Linked DNA regions of Homo sapiens: region 2 is linked to region 1. The links are contacts of gene promoters, found by promoter capture Hi-C in blood cells and fetal thymus (Javierre and others, 2016). All regions are on one chromosome and are shown on one strand. Each heading gives the region's core, a stretch centred on a gene start or on the middle of the fragment in contact. The rest is flanking DNA. Distances are from core to core; before and after follow the strand shown.

Region 1 (4,188 bases), core at 1,496-3,995:
AAATGTTCACCTAACAGTACAACAAACTTTTTTTAAGTATAGAAAGAAAAAGAAAGGTCTATAATCCTCAAAGGAAAAAAATCAGGGGTTTCAATGGACGAAACAAGGGGAAAACTACACAGTAAGTCCAGCCAGGAAGCCAGACTTCCAATTTGTACTGTCATTTGGATGCTATGACACCTCATGGTACCACCTCATGGTACCACATCATTCATAACCCGTCCAGCCACAGGCCAATGACAGCATCCTCGGCCAGCCACATTCCACATTTGTCAGGCTTCATTACGGCCCTTTGCTTTCAAGTTCAAAAGTCTATGGCAGAGAATCAGCACCTAGTCCACAGCAGCTCCAGGGATGACCGGGATTCCTTTGGTGGATAGCTGCCCCTGTCCTGGAAGGACATCTGATCTCCATGTAAGATTCCTCACCCCTTCCGAGCACCTGCTAGGCGCCGGGCCCCGGCGGGGTGCCAGGAATACAAAATGAATGATGGGAGAAATGAAATACTGACACTCTACCACATGGTGAGCCTCAAGAAAATCATGCTAAGTGAAAGCAGACAGACACAAAACACCCCATATTGCAGGATGACATTTACATGCAATGTCCCAACAAGGCAAATTCATAGAAACAGAAAAGATTCCTGGTTGCCTGGGGCAGGGGTGAAAATGGGGTAAAATGTGAAGCTAATGAGCATGGGGCACCTCTGCAGGAGGACAGAAGTGTTCTAAGACTGGACTGTGTGTGTGATGGTCATACTTAGCAAAACTTAATGAATTATACACTTAAAATGTGTATAATTTTATGGTATGTAAAGTATCCTTCGGTAAAGCTTAAAAAAAATAAATGGGAGTTAGCAGCTGCAACAATTTTCAAAAGCATCAACTGTGATTTTTCACAGCTAGCTATTCATTTGTGCTTGTCCACAGACATTTCACAAACCTCTAGGGCAGACCTCGGCCATTCCATGAGAAAACTGAGCCCCAACCACCTGGCACTCCTGGTATGCAATGACTTAACTGTCCACAGCATCCAGACGGCTCAGTGATGCCCCCATCCTTGTTGCTGATGGAAACCCACTTGAGAAACACTGCAAGCCATACAAAAAATTAGATCCCATCAAGTCTAAAGACTTCATGAAAAATAATTTCAGAGGTTTTGAAACCACTTGATATATTTTTATTATAATTTTACATGTTTAAAGTCAGGCCAGTCACGGTGGCTCACACCTATAATCCCAGCACTTTGGGAGGCCGAGGCGGGTGGATCACCTGAGGTCAGGAGCTCGAGACCAGCCTGGCCAACATGGCGAAACCCTGTTTCTACTAAAAATACAAAAATTAGCCGGGCGTGATGGCCCACACCTGTAGTCCCAGCTACTCAGGAGGCTGAGGCACGAGAATCACTTGAACCCAGGAGGGGGAGGTTACAGTGAGCCAAGATCGCGCCATTGCACTCCAACCTGGGTGACCCAGCGAGCCTATGTCTCAAAAAAAAAAAAAAAAAAAAAAAAACCCAGCCTGGGTGACAGAATGAGACTCTGTCTCGAAAAAAATAAATAAAAAGAGTCAAAGGATGACAATTTCCTTCCACGCAGTACTTTTTTTCCCCCCAAAATAAAATATTTAATGCTTAAGTGAGGTCAGATAATTAAAAAATCTTTGTTGCTGTAAATAAACATTAAAGAATAATTTCAGTGTGTCACAGATCACTGACTTAAGGAAAAGATACCACTTAGGTTAGGAGGGCACTTTTTTCTTCTTTTTATTTGCACAATTCTATGGAGTATATGTGCAATTTCGTTACATGCATAAATTTCGTAGTGGTCAAGTCAGGACTTCTAGGGTATGCATTACCCGGGAAGGTGTCTTGCACCCATTAAGCAATTCTCATTATCCTCCCTGCACCCACCCCCTCACCCTTCAGAGTCTCCATCATCTGACGTTCCACTCTCCACATCCATGTGAACACATTCTTAAGCACCCACTTAGGAGTGGGAACATGCGATACTTGTCTTTCTGGGCCTGGCTTCACTTAAGATAATGACCTCCACTTCCATCCGTGTGCCGGGGGAGCATTTTTAAACAGTTCGAGGTTTTCCACGCTAGCTTGGAGGCCTTCCATGCCTACAAGTGAGTTCAGAGCCAGGGCCCCCGAAATGCCTTCTGCCCCTTTAGCTTCCTCCAGAGCTCACAGCCCGCCGTGGGCCCTCCGTGAAACGCGCGGAAGGTTTATGACAATCTCAGCAAAGGCGCCAGCTTGCAGGCCTCTCCCCTGCCCTGCTCCCGACCCCAAGGAGAGCAGCGAGCGCCAGGCCCCCGGCCGCCCCCCCGGCTCCGGCCGCCCCCGCCCCGGCCGCCCCCGCTCCGGCTGCCCCCGCCCTGGCTGTCGACCACCAGCGGGGCCTCTGTGCCTGCAGCCAGGCCCCTGCGCACGCCGGGGGAGAGGCCGTACCCGGCGCAGAGCCTCGCCCAGACCGCGGTCCCGGGGAAGCGCGCGTGCCCTCTCCGGGACGCCGAAGTTGCGGTCTGGGAACGGCCGGCGCGGGGCGGGGATCTCCGCGAGGCCCGCTGTGAGGTCCGGCCTTTCCTGGACCGCTCCAGCCGGGCTCGGGAGCAGGAGCCGGCGTCTGGACGGCCCCACCGCGGCCCTCAGCCCGGCCTCACCCAAACACGTGCTCCGAGCTCCAGATCTTCATTGCCGCCGGCGCAGGGCGCGGGCTCTGCGATCCGGGCCGGGTGCTTCGGGCCGCGCGGCTCCGGGCGCGGCGTGGGCGGGGCCTCGATGGGCGGGGCGCCCTTGGATGCCGCCCACCCCGTCTGGTGGCTAGGCTGGCTGCAGCGGCTAAAAATAGCTCTGCGGGCGCGGCTGTGGCGCAGCCCCAGACCTGCGCTGCTACCCTGGGGTGCGCGATGCGCGCTTGCTGCAGATGCCGCGGGCGTAGGAGGCGACGCTCGTCCTTACTCCCACTGTCCAAATTCTCCCAAGGCCCTGTCCAGCTACGCCGGTTTGTACTGTCGGGGACGTGTGATGAAAAACAAACCTGCCAACCCTCAAAACTCCACTGCAGTTTGGGTCTTGAACAAACATTAAACCAGCATGTGAGGCCGGGCGCGGTGGCTCACGCCTGTAATCCCAGCACTTTGGGAGGCCGAGGCGGGCGGATCACGAGGTCAGGAGATCAAGACCATCCTGGCTAACACGGTGAAACCCCGTCTCTACTAAAAATACAAAAAATTAGCCGGGCGTGGTGGCGGGCGCCTGTAGTACCAGCTGCTCGGGAGGCTGAGGCAGGAGAATGGCGTGAACCCGGGAGGCGGAGCTTGCAGTGAGCCGAGATCCCGCCACTGCACTCCAGCCTGGGCAACAGAGCGAGACTCCGTCTCAAACAAAACAAAACAAAACAAAACAAAACAAAACAAAACCAGCATGTGATGTGCATCACAAGCAATCCGCCAAATAGGCTGCAAAGACAGAAATCTCAGCCTGTATCAAACAGCCGGGAGGATGCAACCTACCCCACGCATGCTCCCGAGGTAAACGAGACAGCCCTCCGGGGAGGGGACTCCACTACACCATTTGTCGCAGAGTTCATCCTAAATTCGCCTGATGATGGAGTGGCCATTGGTAAATGCAGTGGCCATTTGCGTTTGCTAATTGCCTTTATCCAAAGGAAAAATGAATTTTCATACCTTTATGACAGGAGGTAGGTTTACAATTTGAAGCCAGGTGCTCTCTGGTAGCTGGGCTCCTACCCTCCCACAAAACTGGGAGACGGGGATGACATTTCAAAGAGATGACTCCCAAGTCCTTGAGAAAATACATTCTTGAGTTATAAAACTGGGGGGAAATCTTATTTAGCTTTAAAAAAATGTACGTGTATCTCAAAAAGAATTTGTGATTACAACTTGGCAAATCCTCTAAGGAAAAAGAGTCTCCCTTTCGCATAAACTACTTTTTAGCTTTGCAAAGTACCCTGCACTGCCACAAACGAAGTTGAAGTGCACGGAAGTGAGATGCTTGTTCTAAGAAGAGGGTACTCTTCTCCAGGATGAGATAGGGCGAGAGGGCAGGGCCCTTGTCTGAGTCGGCTGAGTCTCAGCCTAGAGCAGCGCCTGGCGCCCCTGGGGCGTCCGTGGGCGTGGGGAGCGCATTTGTGCAGTGAGGCAGGGAAGTGGAAGAGCACAC
Region 2 (4,188 bases), core at 560-3,059, 120 kb before region 1:
AATTATACTAAATTTCTTATATGGCAAATTGGCAATTTATTAAAATATAAAATCTACCATCTGTTTTCCAATGTTATACTTGTTCTGTAAAGTGTTAAGTGCATTTACTGAACCTGGCTACTTTATAAAGCACAGTATCTGGTTCATCATCTATTTATTTAGAAAGCAAATTTGTTTATATTCTAATCCCTTTCATGATGTGATGATTTTCTTCTTAAACAACCAATGAACTCCTTTAAGGTCATTCTTTTAATGATAAAGATTTGGGTAGGCCTGCTGTTACTTTGTCTCTTAAGCAATGTGATATCCTTGAAAATAAGTACACATTACTGTGTCTCCTAAGAAATTTGATATCCTTGTAAGTTAAGTATAGCTGGAGGCACTGTCTAAGCAATCCATCGAGTGCATCAGGTTGTATGAAAGAAGAGCCACCCTGCCCTGCTGCCAGTGACACCACCATATTCCAGAGCCATACTGCAGGGGTAGCTGGTGAGCCTGTGCTGTGCAGAGGGGGCAGTTTCAATTGTAAAATTTTTTATTGGAGAAAATGAAATTATATTAATGGTAGTATCCTTTAATCTATTGTGGTCCAGGTAATTTTTTGATCATCAGTCCCCAGTTTTGTTATTGTTAAATAAAATTATTTATCATTACCTAAAACTTTAACCCCTGCTACTTTACTGTCATATTCATACAGCTCCTTTATAAAATGCCTTCTCTTCCTTACTCCATTTGATCCTTGTAACAATCCTGTGACTCTTTGCAAATTAGTAAACTGAGGCTTAGAGAGATTAGAGATTCACATAGAAGTAAGTTCTCAGTGCTGCTGATAACAGCATTTTCATCCTCATCATACCCTTCAGTCCGGCAAAGGTGTTCCACTACATAGAAGTTATTGCTATTTTCCTCTAAGAGTGTCACATAAAATGCATTATTAGATGAAACTAAAGAGAGAGTTCTGAAGAAAATGGAGGTAGATACTTTGATGTAGGTTTCTGAGCAGTTCTGGAGAGAGAATATGTGAGTCAGAAAGACTAAGATTTGGCTTTGGAGAGAAGAGAGTTTATGAGAGAATGTGTGGGCATGCACATGCTGGTGTTAGGGGATGATGGTCCTGCATATGCACATAAATGGGATGGGGGGGTACCATGTAAAGTTGAGGTATGAAATAAGAGGGAGGCCAGGCACAGTGGCTCATGCCTGTAATCACAGCACTCTGGGAGCCCAAGGCAGGAGGATCACTTGAAGCCAGGAGTTCAAGACCAGCCTGGCCAACAAGGCAAGACCCTATCTATAAAATAAACAAATAAATAAAGAGGGAGATGTGAAATGAGAAAAGATAGAGTATCATAGAAGTGTCAAAGACTGAGATAAAATAATTTTAAGACTAGAAAGTCAGTTGATTTTTTTCTGATACGTTCCTAGCATGCTCTAGCCATCATTGCCTCCACGTTGAGAGTGTGCAGTATGCTCACCAAATTCTCCAGTAATACACTGTTTCATAGTAGGGGTATAATGATATTATAGTAGAAACTTGATGTATCATAAGAGTACACTGTTTTAAAAGAATTTTTTGAAAGCTTTCTTTAAAGCAAATAACTCATTTTTTATTTATTTCATAATTTGAAATATTTATATTACCACTGACCTTTGTAAAAGCCCCTTTATTGGTGAATCATACCATTCATTATTCATGTAACTTCTTAAAATCAAATAGCATTTGCAAGACTTCTGTTTACTCATCTTTAAAAATGGGGAGGAAGGCCTGGCGCTCAGTGGCTCACTTCTGTAATCCCAGCACTTTGAGAGGCCGAGACCAGGTGTTTTGAGACCAGCCTGAGAAGCATAGCAAGATCATAGAATCCTGGAATCCTAGCTGCTTGGGAGGCGGAGACAGGAAGATCTTTTGAGCCCGGGAGTTTAAGGCTGCAGTGAACTATGATCTCACCACTGTGCTCCATCCAGCCTTGGTAATAGAGTGAGACCCTGTCTCTAAAAACATAAAAATCGGGGAGGAGGCAAGACATGTTAAGCTTCCGTCTAGTCTTAAAATTTTATGCAGAAAATAAAATTTGCGTGACTAAATTTTTTGTTCTATTTATTCAACAAGCTTTTCCTCATTTTTGTTATTAGTCTTACGTTGTAGGCAAAGTGTATATAGATAAGTAAGTGCATTCCTGGTAGAATTTTCTATGAAATTATTGTATACTATTTTATTTTATATCTTAAATTTGAGATAGATTTTACAGAAAAGCAGTTCAATGCTGTAGATAAATTAATCAAAATTGAGGATGCTGTAGGCCTTTTAAAAACACAGATTTAACTTTTTAAAATTGGTAAGCTAGCTGTAACATTCAATACTGACATTACTACTATATTGATGTCAGTATAGGCTAAAAATAAAATTATTTTCACAATCTACTGGTAGAAAATCCTTGTACAGAATAAATTCGTAATACAGTAACATTAGTCATCAGTGAATGAACAGTGAAAATAATTGTGCATTGTATAGCATGTGTTCATGATATTGCAGCAAGAACTTTATAAGGCATGTAAAATAGGTTTTTAATGTCCTAATCTCTGTTCTCTAGATTATGTACTCAAAGTGATGAAAATTTTCTCTTCCTCTTGCACTTTCTTGTGTCATTCATACACATAAACATCACCCAAATTAAGGTAGAATATTTCAAACATTTTGATCTTTGAGAGATAAGATGTCTAATACAGTTAACTCATCTTGGATTTCTTCAGCAGTAGGCTCTACAGGTGTGGGTTGTCATTTCTGATTATCTGATTATAATGATCTTTGCACTCTTCTCAAGTGTGGCTGTACCTGCGGTGCTTAGTTTCTTGACATATTAAACGCTTCTTATAAGTGTTGTCTTCCTTGACCCTTTCAAGTATGATTTTTTCACTCACACCCTTCATACCTCAGCTGAAAGGACATCTCCTCAGGCCACCCCAGACACCTTTATATATTCAGCACATACTGCCCTTTTTTTTTTTTTTGAGACGGAGTCTTGCTCTGTCGTCTAAGCTGGAGTGCAGTGGCGCAATATCAGCTCACTGCAAGTTCCACCTCCCGGGTTCACACCATTCTCCTGCTTCAGCCTCCAGAGTAGCTGGGACTACAGGCGCCCGCCACCACGTCCGGCTAATTTTTTGTATTTTTAGTAGAGACGGGGTTTCACCATGTTAGCCAGGATGGTCTTGATCTCCTGACCTCGTGGTCCGCCCGCCTCGGCCTCCCAAAGTGCTGGGATTACAGGCGTGAGCCACTGTGCCCAGCCTGCTGTTTTCATTTTAATCGCGTTGCCCTATTATCTCCCTTTTAGCAGCCATCATGGTCTGTAGTTGTTTTGTTGGTCTCTTTTCTTATTCATTGATGTCTGCCACAAGAATATAATCTCATTGAGGGCAGAGACCTTTTCTCTCTAATTCACTGTTATATCCCAGTGTAATGGGGACTCCGTAGATATTTGATCATTGTTAAATGAATTAAAGAATCTGTGGTTTAGCTATTGTAGGTCTGGTTTCTCACCATCTGTCTTGCATCTTGGTCCCCTGATGCTCTTCAGTTATCTCCAAAATGCAGAGCCTCCCTCGTGTTCTCACTGTGTCTACCTTACCTTGCCTCACGCATTGGTTTGACATCTCTTGCCTGGACCATGACAAACCCTCTAATGTTACTTCCCTTTTCATGACTTCTTGATACTTGTAGGTGGAAAGTGTAAACCCCTTAGCATGACAGGGCAGCTGTTCACAATCTGACCCAGTTCTGACCTCTCCAGGCTCTTCATTCACCATTCATCCCTGCCCTATGTGTGCTGGTGTTGCCTACACTTCCTTCATTCCTGAATGTCCAGGGCCTCTGCACCTACCTGAAATGTCCCTTTCCCCTCTTCGCTACCTAGAAAATGCCTGCTTCTCCTTAAGACCTAACTCAAATGTCTATCTACTATTCTGAAATGCTTTTTCCAATCGAAGTCATTCTTTCTTCTCTATGTTCATTCAATGAGCACTCCACTCTGGCATCTTTCTGTCACTTACAACAGTGACACTGTGTTGTAATTACTGTATACGTTTATCTCCCACTAGACTGTGAACTTCTTAAGGGCAAGGACCATGTTTGTACTGTCAGTCCTGTCATAGATTTAGGGACCCAAGACAGTATCTCTTGTAGTCTTT

Evidence for each region. Contacts are between HindIII fragments. The CHiCAGO score rates a contact against its expected background, and 5 or more counts as called.
Region 2: a fragment that was not itself captured here is called in contact with the fragment with the promoter of PRELID3A in region 1 in 4 of 17 cell types (erythroblasts, endothelial precursors, megakaryocytes and 1 more); the score reaches 7.2 in erythroblasts.

The regions. Positions count from the first base shown.
Region 1 is chr18:12,406,486-12,410,673 of GRCh38, reverse strand. PRELID3A (PRELI domain containing 3A) reads right to left here and starts at 2,745. Exons shown (of 7, transcript NM_001142405.2): 1 at 2,667-2,745. The coding sequence starts at 2,698. RefSeq lists enhancers at 1,918-2,167, 2,025-2,684, 2,685-3,346 and a silencer at 2,368-2,947. The HindIII fragment of the contact is 9,540 bases long and covers 835-4,188 here.
Region 2 is chr18:12,528,190-12,532,377 of GRCh38, reverse strand. All of the region lies in intron 4 of SPIRE1 (spire type actin nucleation factor 1), which reads left to right. Among named protein-coding and RNA genes, the nearest start is that of PRELID3A, 120 kb to the right of the region's middle. RefSeq lists a silencer at 3,621-3,821. The HindIII fragment of the contact is 453 bases long and covers 1,583-2,035 here.